3 separate regions of the Homo sapiens genome follow, and all the other regions are linked to region 3. Evidence: promoter capture Hi-C in human tissues and cell types (Jung and others, 2019). All regions are on one chromosome and are shown on one strand. The core of a region is centred on a gene start or on the middle of the fragment in contact, and the rest is flanking DNA. Distances in the headings are between cores, read along the strand shown. Region 1 overlaps RELN (reelin). Region 2 overlaps RELN (reelin). Region 3 holds the start of RELN (reelin).

Region 1 (2,700 bases), core at 36-2,535, 64 kb before region 3:
AGGAGAAGGAGTGGCCTCCAGGGAGGACTAAACGCAGTGTGATAAAGGACTAAGCTTAAGATCAAAATAATAAGGTCAAAGAGCCCTGGATCAGCCCACCTCTGAAAGCAAGCGGAGAATGCCGTGCAAATGCTTTGCAGCTTTGTCTCCACCTGCAAGGAGAGGAAAAACTGAGCAAGATCCAGGAATTCTAGCAGGTGCAGGACACCCATCATATGCAAAACTTAATGACCGATGAAAACACCTTCCAGGGTCTGGAAAATGTTCTTTGCTGGCTAGAGGAGGGGTACAGCATCTCTGTGGAACGCTATTATGATATACTTATTACTGATTCAGAGATTCAGATGAACCACACGTAGCCTCTAAGTCTTATTTTCTGGCACCACCAGTAATAAAAGGAAATCCACTGAAATTTTTTTTGCTTCCTTTAAGTTCTTGGGAGATAAAACAGGTGCAGTCAAATGTGTTTGTGAATTTATTATTTTAAAATTAAGCCCTTTGGAAGTAAGTTTAGATGAGAGCACTTGGTGAATATAAATCTCTCCTACTCAATCCCTCTACATTGCCTTTCCTCTTCTTTATGTTCCAAACCCCAACCCACCCTACAAGCACTCTCTCTCTGACACACGTGTGCATGCGCATACACATACACACACACACACACACACACACACACACACACACACACACACACACGCTCACTCAGAATTTCTAAAAATATTAACCTTGAGGTAAAAATCTCACATCTTATTCAGGTGATCCCTTCCCTAGACTTGGAGACATAGGTCAGAATAAACTACCTGGAATGAGGTCCTGAACAATATTTTTGAAATCTCCGAAGACTGTCCAATCTAGCCTAAATAAAAATTCCTAAATAGTAATAGTAATGATAAAGAATTAAAATATAATTTTACAATTCTCTACCCATTTTTAGCCCCAACTGCACTTAAAGCAGGAATAATTTCATTTTATCATCCACTTTTGGCCTTTATAATTTAATTCTGAATTTTTAAAAAATTCTACAAATAATGATAATTAGTTTCTATTATATAACCCAAAATTTTTTTCTTTATAAATGACACTTTATTATAATTCAGAGAACCACAGACAAGAGTAACTGGTATTTGTGATTTATCTCTGACCTTATTTTTCACGTTACTTTTATATGAGGCTGGATAATACTCATCCATGAAAATTTCATATTGTTGGCCCTGCACTCAATAAATTATTAAAGTGATGTGAATAGGAATGTGGTGTTCAGGTTTTCAGCAATTTTCATCCTTTTGTTCTTGCTTTTTTAAAGGAAAGACTATCTTGTCTAAAACTCAACATATCTTTGTAAAATTTAAGCAAAGATTAGCCTTAAAAGAAATCATTTTGGGAGATTTATTACTCTGAATTGCTGCAAGAAGTTTTAACAATGTTTTTCTTTTGAGGCATGGATAATTTTCTAGGTTGAGAAGAATAAGCCTAGTAATTCTTATAAGCACATACACAGGTGAATACATTACAATAAAATACACGGATGCCTAGAGAACAAATATATGTGTGATTTTTCTCCCCCAAAATCATCAGGTGTGTAAAGCTTTTATACAATAAAAAAGGCTTCTAACTTTTCTGTTTCTATTATGTTTTTTTTACGTTGTTTTGACCAAAGCTAACTAAAGAAAATTTGAACTCACGTAACAAATAACAAAGTAACTCCTAATAGTGCCCCAAGTAGTTTAAAACATAAATATATGACCCCCACCCCGCCTTTTTTTTTTTTTTTTTTTTGAGATGGAGTCTCACTCTGTCTCCAGGCTGGAGTGCAGTGGCACAATCTTGGCTCACTGCAACCTCTGCCTCCTCAGTTCAAGCGATTGTTCTGCCTCAGCCTCCCAAGTAGCTGGGACTACGGGTACGTGCCATCAGGCCAATTTTTGTATTTTTAGTAGAGATGGGGTTTCACCATGTTGGCCAGGATGGTCTCGATCTCTTGACCTTGTGATCCACCCACCTCAGCCTCCCAAAGTGCTACGATTACAGGCGTGAGCCACTGCACCTGGCCAGCTTTTGATTGTAGTTCAACATATTGAAAATATGCCATTACGAAATTCTTAAATATGTTCATATTTGCAACAACTTTATGCTTGTGCAAGAACATGCCAAGAGTGACCTTGATAATACTCGTGCGTATGTCATACATCTGTTGTTTGTAAAATGTATAGATCAACATTAATAATAATTGATAGAATTCCTAATACACATAGTTAAACCGAACGCAGCTCTAAAGTATCATAAGTTTTTTTTTTTTTTTTTTTTTTTTTTTTTTTTTTTGAGACGGAGTCTCCCTCTGTCGCCCAGGCTAGAGGGCAGTGGCCTGATCTCAGCTCACTGCAAGCTCTGCCTCCCGGGTTCACGCCATTTTCCTGCCTCAGCCTCCCGAGTAGCTCGGATTACAGGCATGAGCCACCACATCCAGCTAATTTTTTTTGTATTTTTAGTAGAGATGGGTTTTCACTGTGTTAGCCAGGACGGTTTCAATCTCCTGACCTCGTGATCCACCCCCTTGGCCTCCCAAAGTGCTGGGATTACAGGCGTGAGCCACCGTGCCCAGCCTAAGCTTTTTAAACAAGTTTTTCTACAGTATTCTCTTTTAGTACTTCCATATGTTCATTTCAATATACTAAAACTAATCATAAGCAACTGTCCTAAAAT
Region 2 (2,700 bases), core at 167-2,666, 130 kb before region 3:
CTTTCACTCTCATGCCTCTTTATCTTATTTTTTCCCCATTTCTCTTTTAGTGTTTTCACCTTTCAGGTTCTCTGATGGTTCCCACTCGTATCTCCAGTGCATGTCATATGATGGGTCTTCATTACATTTCTACTGAAATAAAAAAATTTAATTTCATGCCACAAAGTCTTCTCTAAAGTCAAATGTATTGAAACAGAAAGCTGAGAAAGAACAGAAATCTAAGCCTTGGATGTCCATTGGCAGCCAGGACACTGTCTTCCAGCAGTTGGGTGACAGGAGCAGATGGTCTAAAGGTTGGTAAAAACACTTGATTTGTTGCAAAATAGGCAGGAAATCAGAGAATGGACGTGGCTGTTCTCTCGGTAGAAGAATGTAAGGATTACTTAGGGAGAGCCACATATTGAAGAGTGACCATCTATTCAAGTTCATCTCAACAGTTACTGGGGGTCAGAATGTCCAACAGGCTAGGCAGCTAGAGCGCTGAAACAGGCCAAACACCAAGAGGGCAAAAGGAAGAAAAGCTTTAAGAACTCAGTCATCTACTATTAAGACAATAAAGCTCATCAAGAGAGACTGAAACGAATAAGCAACAATGTGCGCCACCAGCAATGATCAGCTTGGCAACTCTGATAAAAAGAGGTGGATCATTTTGAGTGAAGGTGTCAAGATGCTTATGAATCTAAAAGAGACATGACGCATAAAAGCAAGAGGAATAATTATAATCATTATAGTATCTTCAAAAGACATTTTTGACACATGAACCATATGAAAGAATCATAGAATGTTAGAGCTGGAAAGGGCCCTGGAAGCATCTGACCTAATCTCCACCTTTTACAGGTAAGGAAATTAAGGCCCAGAAACATGAAGTGATTTGTCCAAGGACACAGAGGTCATTAGTGAGAGAGAACAAACTGGAATGCAGGTCTCCAAGGCCCAGGCTGCTATTCCAAAAATCCTGTATCCCTGCAATGGGAGTAGTTTTTTAAACAGCCTCACATCAGTTTTCTTAACCACATCTTCACATCAGTTTTCTTAACCACATCTTCACAGGACACTAACCCTTAGAGCTTTGAGGAAGAATTTTATAAAAAGCTTTGGAATGGGGCTGAAAGAGAGGGCATCCAAAGGACCCCAGGTGCATTCAGGACATTTCCTAACCTAAATCTCCTCTGAGATTAGTAAAATGGACATTATTAGCCCCATTCTACAGATGAGGAAGTTTCACTCCAAGACCATACGATGGAATAACATCTTAAATTTCACATGAGATAAATCCTTTGCAATCAATTTTTTTTTTTTTAGAAAAAAATCCTCTAAGTTTTGCAGCACTGGAAGAAATCACTGTTTTGTTGGCTGAGCACCAGATTAGGTAGCAGGCTTTCAGGAAGATGACATGTTGCACAAAACAAATGGACTTTAAATAATACACTTTAAACAATAAAGTTACACCCAGCCTGGGGATGCTCACACTACTGGAGCCATGTGAGAACTCAGACAAACTGAAGGAACAGCAGATTCACATCTTGCTTTTCAACTTCACTCAGAAGTGTGTGCTCTCTAGATGGGCAGGTAGATAGGATCACTCACATCATTTACTTTTTACTCTTCTGTCTCTGTCAACCGTAATTGAAATCTCATAACTTAAACACACCTATAATGCAACTTTAAGCGACTAGCCCAAGTTCACACAGCTAGTGTCATCTCAGACCTACATGTATGTGGTATCTTGAAAAAGTTAATAACTGTTTTTTTTAATTGTAGTAAGAACACTTAATACGAGGTCCACCCTCTTTAACAAAATTTTAAGTGCCCAGTGCAGTGCTGTTAACTGCAAGTTGTACAATGCTGTGCAGCACACCTCTAGAAGTTACTCACCTTGTATAACTAAAACTTTATACCTCTTGAACAGCAACCGTTTCCCCCTCCTCCTGGCACCTGGCAACCACCATTCTATTCTCCGCTTCTGTGAGTTTGACATTTTTAGATCCTGCACAGAAGTGGATTCATGCAGTATTTGTCCTTCTGTGACTGGTTCATTTCACTTTGCACGAAGTCCTCCAGGTCCATCTGTGTTGTCACAAATGACAGGATTTCCTTAAATAAGCAACCTAACTTTATACCTTAAGGAACTAGAAAAAGGGCAAACTAAGGCTAAAGTTAGCAGAAGGTAGAAAATAAGGATTGGAGCAGAAATAGAAAATAGAAAAACAATAGAAAAAAACAACAAAACTGAGTTTGGCTTTTAAAAATAAGTAAAATGGACAAACCCTTAGCCAGACTAAGAAAAAGAGAAGGTTAAAAAAAATTGGAAATGAAAGAGGAGTCATTACAATTGATGCCACAGAAATGAAACGGTAAGAGACTATTATGAACAATTATACACCAACACACTGAGTAACCCAAAAGAAATAAATTCTGTGAAATCCCGTCTCTACTAAAAATATAAAAATTAGCCAGGCATGGTGGCAGGCACCTGTAATCCCAGCTACTGGGGAGGCTGAGGTAGGAGAATTGTTTGTTGAACCTGGAAGGCAGAGGTGGCAATGAGCCGAGGTCATGCCATTGTACTCCAAACTGGCCAACAAGAGGGAAACTGTCTCAAAAAAAAAAAAAAAAAAAAAAAGAAAGAAAGAAATTCTTAGAAACATACAAGCTACCACGATTGAATCATGAAAAAATAGGAAATTTGAACAGAACCAA
Region 3 (2,700 bases), core at 69-2,568:
GGCTGCATAATGATTCCATTTTTAAGATACCTCTAAATTATAAGGGATTCCAGCCTCTACCTGGAAATTAAAGCTGTGCAGATAAAATACAAAGTCATTAATAAACATCACAAAGATAATTCTAACAAGAAGCACCATGTAAAAGTAAGGCAGGAATCAGAAAAATCATCAATTACTGACATATTAAATCACACTTTCAAAAGAATAGGGAGCTGGAAGCAGCCGCTCCCTTTCAGGAGGGCTGTATGACACTGAATGAAATGCCAGGGACTCCTGGCTGGTGAGCAGCGGGAACTTTGCGGTCGAGCGGCGCGGGGCAGCCACAGACCTGGGCGCTTCAATCTGTCACCAGCCTGCCCGCAAAGCCCAGCGACAGCCCCCAACGCCCCCCCGGGGACCCATCTGGGGGGACCGGGAGCAGGACAAAGGTCTGAAATCCAAGTCCTAGGAGTAAAGAAACAAAATGCGCAGGTTCAATTTAAAGTGCCTGCGGTAAGTACGGGGAGTGAGGGGGAAAGACACCGGCCTCCAAGAATTCTCAGGCGTTTAGCACAAGCACCAGCTCATTACCAGGAGATGCGTTCGGGGAGTGGGGACATGGAGAATGAATCCCAACTTGTGACTCCATTCTCCACTAACTTTATTCTCGCTCCCTGGACCAAGCGCATCGCTGGGGCCAGGGTTGTCATGGTTCTTGTTTCCAAGGCCCCTTGGAAGAAGGAAAGGGATGAGAAAGGTGCGCTGGCGGGCGCACCCGGCGGCGGCGAGCGCGGAGGTGCTGCGGTACCTACCATGGTATTCTTGTCCCGGAACGTAGTAGGTGGGGTTGCCCGCAATATGCAGGGAAATGAGCACCTCGCCCTGCTCCCCATCCCCTTCCAGCTCCCCGTGGTGGGTGCACAGGAAAAAGAAGGGCGAAAAGCGGGGGTAATAGCCAGCCGCCGCGCGCGCCCTCAGCGTCGCCCCCAGCAACAGCGCTAGGAGGAAAGTCTGCCGGGCCCAGCCACTGCGCTCCATGCCGCCGCCGCCGCCGCCGCCGCCGCGCGCCCTACGCGCCGCTCGCTCATTCAGTTTTGGAGACGCCGGGACGGAGGAGCCACGCGGAGAGAAGGCGAGAAGAAGGCGGACGGGAGCGGAACGGGCTCGGGAGCGGGCCTGGGAGCGGGCCCCCGCCGAGAAGTTCCGCGGGAGACGGCGGCTCCCAAAGTTACTTTGGGCCGCGGGAGCGCGGGACCGGGGCTGCGGGCGCCGAGAGCGCGTCGTCTGCCGCCTCCGTGCGCCGCCGCCGCCTCTGCGCGACGCCCCTCGGCCAGGCCTGGGAAAGCGCCCGCCCCGCTCCACACCTTCTTAAAGCCCCGGGCGCCGCGTCCCCCCCGCCGCCGCCACACGTGTCCCGGCCGCTCCCCCGCCCCCGCGCGCCGCCCCGCCCGCCCCCCGCCCTCTCGGGCTGGCTCGGCGGCACCTCGCGCGGCGAGGGGCGCACGCGTCCCCGGAGTCCCCGGCCAGCGCCCGGTTCGCACCCGGGAGGACAGGGAGGGGCGCCCGCCGGGGAGCGGGACGGGGACGCTGTCGAGGACCGCTGAGCCCGCGACTCTTCTGCGAGGGACGTCAAAGCCCCGCAGAGGGCACCTCCCGTCCAGCTGTCTGAAGGGGAAGGCCAGCCCCTTTGGCCGTCAGTGTGCCCTGTTTTTCCTGGGAGGATGCGTGAGGGAAGGAGAGGGGCGGCAGGGACGGCCGCTGGCGCCGGTTTCTTTGTCTGAGCCGGCTGCGTCCCGCGCCCCTCGGGGCTCGCAGTCTGCCAGTCCGGGCGGCCCGCACTCGTTCTGGGAATCCGCCCGAGGCCGCGAACCGCTAGGGGCCCTCGCGCTCCCTTCCCACCCAGGCCCCCTGTCCCTCCCGCCGCGGCCGCCCGGCCCCTCGCGGCAGCGACAGAGCCTCATCTGTAGAGGATTTTAAAATGAGATTAAGCGAAAGTGGAATTGGCAGACTCGAGTGGTGCCTGGAAATGGTGATTTGTGCTGCTCGGTTGTGGGGAATTGTAAGGCAGGAAGGGCTGGCGGAGCTAAGATCCGACAGGCTCTCTTCGCCGGACTGTTCTGTTATTCATTGCTTCTGGGCTCTTCAGGCAGAGATGGGTGTTGTAATTTTTTAAATCAGTGTTTATTTCCTTTAAATGTCGGTTATGACCAATGGCCCTGAAATCGGGGGAGGGAAAAACGTTCAGGGGAGATGCTGGCAGCGGTGATTGAAGCGGGTGGTAATGAGCGGCTGCACATGAACTGCAGGGAAGTGAAATAATCCATAAGCACGTTTTTAACCGAGGACGGCTGGCAGGAGCCCTGCGGCATCCGGAGATGGGGGAGCGGGGTTGCCAGGTTTTAATGCCTCTCCCCACCCACCCTTGGCTTGCCACCAAGCCAGATAAACCCGCACGTACAGAAATGAGTAGATTATAAAATTGGAAGGGATAGTGCCTTTGCCTGCATTTGTGGGGCGAGGGGCGGTGAAAATCAGGGTCCAAGGGGAGACCTCTGTAATCACTTCGTTGCAAAAGGAAGAAATTGTTTTTCTTCCTCTTACTGAGACCGAATGACAGGTAGAAAGGGCCCATTTCTAGCTGGCTTCTTGTTTCCCTTACTTCAAAATCCCCAGAGGCTTAACTGCCATATAAATAATATACAGTGTATACATATATGTATG

Evidence for each region. The method cuts DNA at HindIII sites, captures the fragments that hold promoters and counts their contacts. A contact is called where the count stands out against the background at its distance.
Region 1: a fragment that was not itself captured here is called in contact with the fragment with the promoter of RELN in region 3 in 2 of the 25 tissues and cell types used here (dorsolateral prefrontal cortex and spleen).
Region 2: a fragment that was not itself captured here is called in contact with the fragment with the promoter of RELN in region 3 in 4 of the 25 tissues and cell types used here (liver, mesendoderm cells, pancreas and 1 more).

The regions. Positions count from the first base shown.
Region 1 is chr7:103,924,344-103,927,043 of GRCh38, forward strand. The region is part of intron 1 of RELN (reelin); the gene reads right to left. Among named protein-coding and RNA genes, the nearest start is that of RELN, 64 kb to the right of the region's middle. The HindIII fragment of the contact is 4,065 bases long and covers 1-2,700 here.
Region 2 is chr7:103,862,533-103,865,232 of GRCh38, forward strand. The region is part of intron 2 of RELN (reelin); the gene reads right to left. Among named protein-coding and RNA genes, the nearest start is that of RELN, 130 kb to the right of the region's middle. The HindIII fragment of the contact is 4,123 bases long and covers 1-2,700 here.
Region 3 is chr7:103,988,340-103,991,039 of GRCh38, forward strand. RELN (reelin) reads right to left here and starts at 1,319. Exons shown (of 65, transcript NM_005045.4): 1 at 792-1,319. The coding sequence starts at 1,017. The HindIII fragment of the contact is 8,012 bases long and covers 1-2,700 here.